Linked DNA regions of Homo sapiens: region 2 is linked to region 1. The links are contacts of gene promoters, found by promoter capture Hi-C in blood cells and fetal thymus (Javierre and others, 2016). All regions are on one chromosome and are shown on one strand. Each heading gives the region's core, a stretch centred on a gene start or on the middle of the fragment in contact. The rest is flanking DNA. Distances are from core to core; before and after follow the strand shown.

Region 1 (3,283 bases), core at 562-3,061:
TGCACTCCTGCCTGGGCAACAGAGAGAGACCCTGTCACCAAAAAAAAAAATAAATAAAAAAAATAAAAATTATTTTCATTGAATAAAAGACTTTCTAAATGTGAGAACGTTATGTTTGTAAAGGCTAAGTTGTTTCCTTTTAAGCCTGGGGGAGGACAGGAGTAGAAATAACCAAGCAAGGCACACTTCTCATTAGGTATATTAACGTTGATGTTTGAGTTGACATTTGTTGAATTTTTTTTTTCAGAATGGTGCTTCAATTCATGTTTCAAAAGCAGACACAGAAATAATTTCCAGAGAAATGAGCTGGGGGAAAACAGAAATGTGTATGGAATTGGAACAAAATAAACCTGATTTTTTTCAACATTGTATAGAATTGTTCTGAGGTTAAAAAGAAAGGTTTCTAAAAAATAAATATCTAACAAAAGCTGCACAAAGATTAGGCATACATTATCCATGGAGACATTAAAAACTATTAAAAAGGTTTTTTTACCCCACCTCATCCCCTGGTATGTTTGAGGAAAGCATCTGGAAATTCTAACTCAAAATCATCTAAGGGAATCAATGTAAAACAGACACCATTCCATCCCCTTTCATCCTTCTTAATACACCTCAGCCTCTCCCTTGACTAGATAAAAACGTAATTTTCCCTCTCCCAAATACAGTGCAAAACAAAAACTCTTCTGTGAATGGAGAGACATGGATATGGGGTAGAGGTGGAGACTTGCCTACATTACCAGCAGCCAGCCGAAAATGCCCTGTGTGTGTAAAATATGTTCCTTCAAAGGGGCATTGTGAGCACTAAATATAATTTGTGCCAAAAATAATAATGAAAGCTTAGTGAATACTCTACAGTGCAGGCATCGTTACATTTAATCCACAAAACTACCCCATGAGGTAGATATTTACCGTTCTTTTCACTTAACATCTTTTTTAAAAAGCGGAAAACAGAATGATGAATTAACTTGTCCATGGTCATAAAACTGATAGGTAGTGGCACCAGGATTTGGGGACCATCGGGCAGAGGATCTTCCAAAACCGGCTTTTAAAGAGCCACAAAAAGATGTAGCCGGGTTCTTGGCACTACAGTACTGCTTTATAAACAACAGTTCCCTTCTTTTCTCTTAGAGCCCAGTGGGAATCTAGAGGGACACCTTACATAAAGGAAAATGACTGCAACCTGGACCTGTCACTCGACAAATACTGCCTCTCCCCACCTCACTTCACCTGACGTCTCTGCCCAACCGAAGGCAGCTCTCAGAAAACCGCACAGAGGTTACCACCCCAGAAATTCTGAGATCCTAGGAGGTAGCAATGCAAATAGACAAAGCACAGTATTGCTTTGGATCGAAAATATTTGTTTGCTCATCCTAACTCCAATTCCCCTAGCCTAGAACAAACATAGCCCTTCCGCACTCAGGAAATCCCAAGAGGTCAGGTTCAGTCTGGTAAACAACACTGTCCGGGCACCTTGCAGAACACTGGGGACTGTGACGGGCGGCGACAAATTGGCACAAGAGAGACTGAAATGCACAGGGACACCAGCCTAGTGGCCGTGAAAACTCAAGTTGACACTTCCAGGGAGGGAATGGGGGAGGTGGAGCCCAATTCCTGCTTCTGGAGAGAGTAAGAGACTTCCTCCATCCTCCTTCTCCCTCCTCCTCCTCCAAGGCACGCTGAGATTTGGAGCGGAGGAGCTGAGCCCCGCGGGAAAAGCAGAAAAGGGTCATTGCCACTTTAAATGACTCAGGAAGTAAAAGGAGGCCTCCTGACGGGGAAAGGGAAAGTGGAACCGGGGCGGCGCGGGGGCCGGCGGCTGCCGCGATCTCTCCCTGGTAGCGGGAGGCTGAGCGGGCGGCGCGACGCGGGGGCCGACGGGGGCGCCGGGTGGCCGCGCCGGAAGTGCCTTGCGCGGCAGAGGAAGCGCAGGGACAGAGCGGAGCAGGCCGAGCCGGCGGAAAGGGTCTTTGCTGCTGCGCCCGGGCAGGGGCTGCCGCGGCCCCAGGTCCCGCTTCGAGACGCGGCGCGGTCCAGGCGGGAGGCGACTCCCTAGGAAGGGACCCGGGGCGGGAGGAGGAAGTGAGGCCGCGCGGAAGGAAGGCGGCGAGCCCCGGGGCCCCGAGGCCTTGGCCGCGTCACAGCACCCACATGGCCTCTGGAGTGGGCGCGGCCTTCGAGGAACTGCCTCACGACGGCACGTGTGACGAGTGCGAGCCCGACGAGGCTCCGGGGGCCGAGGAAGTGTGCCGAGAATGCGGCTTCTGCTACTGCCGCCGCCATGCCGAGGCGCACAGGCAGAAGTTCCTCAGTCACCATCTGGCCGAATACGTCCACGGCTCCCAGGCCTGGACCCCGCCAGCTGACGGAGAGGGGGCGGGGAAGGAAGAAGCGGAGGTCAAGGTGGAGCAGGAGAGGGAGATAGAAAGCGAGGCAGGGGAAGAGAGTGAGTCGGAGGAAGAGAGCGAGTCAGAGGAAGAGAGCGAGACAGAGGAAGAGAGTGAGGATGAGAGCGATGAGGAGAGTGAAGAAGACAGCGAGGAAGAAATGGAGGATGAGCAAGAAAGCGAGGCCGAAGAAGACAACCAAGAAGAAGGGGAATCCGAGGCGGAGGGAGAAACTGAGGCAGAAAGTGAATTTGACCCAGAAATAGAAATGGAAGCAGAGAGAGTGGCCAAGAGGAAGTGTCCGGACCATGGGCTTGATTTGAGTACCTATTGCCAGGAAGATAGGCAGCTCATCTGTGTCCTGTGTCCAGTCATTGGGGCTCACCAGGGCCACCAACTCTCCACCCTAGACGAAGCCTTTGAAGAATTAAGAGTAAGTATTGGGCCTTCAGAGCATAAACCTAGGGGTCAGGACACCTGGGTTTCAACTCAGGTGGCCTGGCTGTGACCACATTCGCTTTCACTGTGTCCCTAAGAAGCTAGTCTTTCCAACTTTTTGGGAGCAGTTCTTATTCACCGTTTTTGGTTGAACTCTTTTGAGAATCTGATGAAAGTTCTGGACTCTGACCTGAGAAAATACACACAAAATCTAGTATACAATTTCTAGAAAATTGCAAGTTTCTGGTCTGTGGATCCCAGGTAAAGCATTTCTTGGGAGTTTTGACCCCACTTAGGCCAATTTCCACAGCATCACTATTGTTGAAACTGGTGCTTTGTGCTAGGGCTCTTGATAAGGCAATCTTTTTGCCTACTTGAAAACATGGGAAATAGGATTTTGCCACATGAATCCAAGCAAGTGATACGTCTGCATTGAAAAGACTAACAAAATAGTTTTAATA
Region 2 (3,360 bases), core at 619-3,118, 3.1 Mb before region 1:
CTGCAGTGATTCAGGCAAGAGAATGGGGACCTGTGCTCTATCCTGTTTATCTTTAGGGTATTCTTCCAGAGGGTTGCCCTCACTCACTGAGTCAGGGGCTTTGCGAAATTCTCTGGCAAACAGAATGAGCAAACATTCCTTCTTAGGTTTGCTACTTTGTCTCACAAGATTCATCCTGACCTAGGTGAGGACAGGCATTTCCTACTCAAATGTTGCATTTCCCAAGACTACTCGGGCCTACCACACCTCCATCCTGTGTGTGTGTGTGTGTGTGTGTGTGTGTGTTTATTTTGAATGAATGAAAGTTTAAAGTTTTAAATAACTGAGGACAGGCATTTCCGCATTTCCTACTCAAATGTTGCATTTCCCAAGACTACTCGGGCCTACCACACCTCCATCGTGTGTGTGTGTGTGTGTGTGTGTGTGTGTGTGTGTGTGTGTTTATTTTGAATGAATGAAAGTTTAAAGTTTTAAATAACTGTCCATATCCTCTCTCAAGAATTTCCCTGGGTGTTCTTTTACTTCACAAGGATCACAGAATGAAAAAAAAAATAACAATAGTAAAAAAGAGACAAGTCTTTTAAATATTTGATAAAATGGTATTGTATTGTTGAGTTTGTATTCCTCGAACTTTGCAATAATAAGGCGAGGGGAGGAGCCCAGGGATTATTCCTTCAGAATCAACTGGTATTTCCTGATGATCTGCTGTGGGCTGGGCACTGAGGTGGGTGCGGAAATGCAGGGTGAACATGACACAGGTTCCCTGCCTTCAGTTTCACTTTCCACATTGTTAAGGCTATTCCATGCAAGAATGAATCCTTTCAAATTTAGTCTAGCCAGATGTTTTGTGTCCTCTATCCCCTCAACCTTGTTTTTTTCCTTTGCTTGGCATTTATTTTATATTGAAGTATAATTGTGGTATCAATAAACTGCACATTTTTGAACTGCACACTTTGAAAAATGTTATATATGTATACAATCATGACACAATCACAGTCAAAATAATGAACACATCCATAACCCCCAAAAACTTCCTCAAGCCCCTCTGTATCCATCTTTCCCCCCGCCTTACCCAATCCCTGCCCCCAGGCAACAGCAATCTATAATGCTGTCATTATAGTTTCTACTTTCTAGAGTTTTATATAAATGGAATCATACAGTATGATGATTAACTGAACAAAATTATTTTGAATTATTTTGGGATTGTCAACTAAAGAAAAAAAATCAAGCTTTTATTTTAAGAGATGGAGTCTCACTCACTTTGTCACCCAGGCTGAAGAGACTGAAAAAAAAAAAAGATTCATCTGTGTTTTTGCATGTATCAATAATTCATCCTTTTTTGTTGCACAGCAGTATTCCATTAAGCAGATGTATAACAATTTTTTGATCCACTTCATTCATCTATTGATGAACATTTGGGTTGTTTCCTTTTTTTTGGCTATTGAAAATAAAGTGTTAACTTTTTGGAAACTGTCTCCTGAAAAAGCTAAACATAAATTTACTAAATAAGCCACTGATTCCTCTCATAGGTACATACCTAAGAGAAATATACGTACACACAAAATCTTGTGCACTAACGTTCATGGAAACATTATTCATAATAGCCAAAAAATGGAGACAACCCAAGTGTCCACCAACTGATGAACAAATCAACACAATGTGGTATATCCATAACAATGCAATATTATAAGCAATAAATAGGAATATAGGAGGGATACATGGACGAACCTTGAAAACATTATGCTAAATGAAGTAAGTCTGACTTAGGCCACCGTGTATTTTGTGATTCCACTTACATGAAATGTCCAGAAAAGGCAAATTCATAGAGACAAAATGTAGTGTTTGCCAGGGGCTGGAGAGAGGTGGGGCCGGGGGTCTGGGGAGTGATTGCTGATGGGTAGTTTCTTTTGTAGGTGATGAAAATGTTCTAAAATTAAATAGTAGTGATGGTTGTGCAACTCTGAAAATACTAAAAACTACTGAATTGTGTATTTATTTTATGAGACGGAGTCTCGCTCTGTCGCCCAGGCTGGAATGCAGTGGCATGATCTGGGCTTACTGCAACCTCCTTCTCCCAGGTTGAAGTGATTCTCCTGCCTCAGCCTCCCGAGTAGCTGGGATTACAGGCGCGCACCACTATGCCCCGGTAATTTTTGTATTTTTAGTAGAGACGGGGTTTTGCCATGTTGCCCAGGCTGGTCTCCAGTTCCTGACCCCAAGTGATCCGCCCACCTCGGCCTCCCACAGTGCTGGGATTACAGGCGTGAGATCCACTGCGCCCAGCCAAAGCTGCTATTTTTTAAAAGCGGCAATGAACATTCTTGTACAAGTCTTTGTACGGACATACAGTTTGGGTAGAAGAATAGCTGGGTCATATGCTGGGTGGATACTGAACTTTTTCAGAAACTGCCGCTCCTCTGCAAAGTGACTGCACCATTTTATGTTCCCAACAGCAGTACAGGAGAGTTTCAGGTCTACACAAACCCATCCATACTTGGTAAGACCCAACAAGCTTAACATTTCAAGGGAAGGTGGACTTAGGGAGGCGCCAGCGGGAGGCAACATCAATGCAGTTAGCTACACGGGCCTGAAAACTGGAGGCCGCGACAAGCGTCGCTGAGTGGAGGCCCAGTAAGTCCCACCCACTAGGCCAGCCCGAGCGCGTCTGCCACGCCCTGCTGCATTCCGCGGCGAGAGCGCGCGATAGGATTGGCTCTCAAGGCCCCGCCCCAACAGGTCGCCGCTCAGGGTGACCCGGAAGCAGTTGCGCCAGCAGCGTCGCGCGGCCCAGTTCCCTTTTCCGGTCGGCGTGGTCTTGCGAGTGGAGTGTCCGCTGTGCCCGGGCCTGCACCATGAGCGTCCCGGCCTTCATCGACATCAGTGAAGAAGATCAGGTGTGCTTCGGTCTACGGGTGCCGCCACGGTGGGGTGGGGGATGTCCTAGTAGCGCAAGGGACCGCTGCCGAGCCTGGGCCGGGCGGCCGGGGCTGACACCCGCAGCTGTTCTACACGCGAGAATGGGGAGGCCGGTGGCTGGGGCGCGCGTTCCTGGCCTCGATTCGCACCAGCTCGCCGGCCGGCGGTCCCAGCGCGGGGCCCGACGCTTCACCGCCAGCTCCCTGGTCGGCGTCGGGACTCATTTCTGACGACATAGTACTTTTAGACTGATGAGGAATGATGTCTGCTTCCGTCCGTCAAATGCAGCCACATTCGGAGTGGGAGGTGGTGAATCTGTAGTTAGCATAAGCAGGGTAGGGAAAAGTAATTTTGTGCTAAAGATCAAAATGCCGGGCCGGGCGCGGTGGCTCACGCCTTTAATCCCAGCACTTTGGGACGCCGAGGCGGGCAGATCACGAGGTC

Evidence for each region. The method cuts DNA at HindIII sites, captures the fragments that hold promoters and counts their contacts. A CHiCAGO score of 5 or more calls a contact.
Region 2: a fragment that was not itself captured here is called in contact with the fragment with the promoter of TRIM44 in region 1 in 1 of 17 cell types (non-activated CD4 T cells); the score reaches 5.9 in non-activated CD4 T cells.

Annotation. Positions count from the first base shown.
Region 1 is chr11:35,660,964-35,664,246 of GRCh38, forward strand. TRIM44 (tripartite motif containing 44) reads left to right here and starts at 1,812. Exons shown (of 5, transcript NM_017583.6): 1 at 1,812-2,817. The coding sequence starts at 2,149. RefSeq lists enhancers at 1,469-1,788, 2,000-2,500 and a silencer at 1,829-2,208. The HindIII fragment of the contact is 12,326 bases long and covers 835-3,283 here.
Region 2 is chr11:32,581,036-32,584,395 of GRCh38, forward strand. EIF3M (eukaryotic translation initiation factor 3 subunit M) reads left to right here and starts at 2,796. Exons shown (of 11, transcript NM_006360.6): 1 at 2,796-2,894. The coding sequence starts at 2,853. RefSeq lists enhancers at 2,507-3,159, 2,802-2,951 and a silencer at 2,582-2,641. The HindIII fragment of the contact is 1,283 bases long and covers 1,228-2,510 here.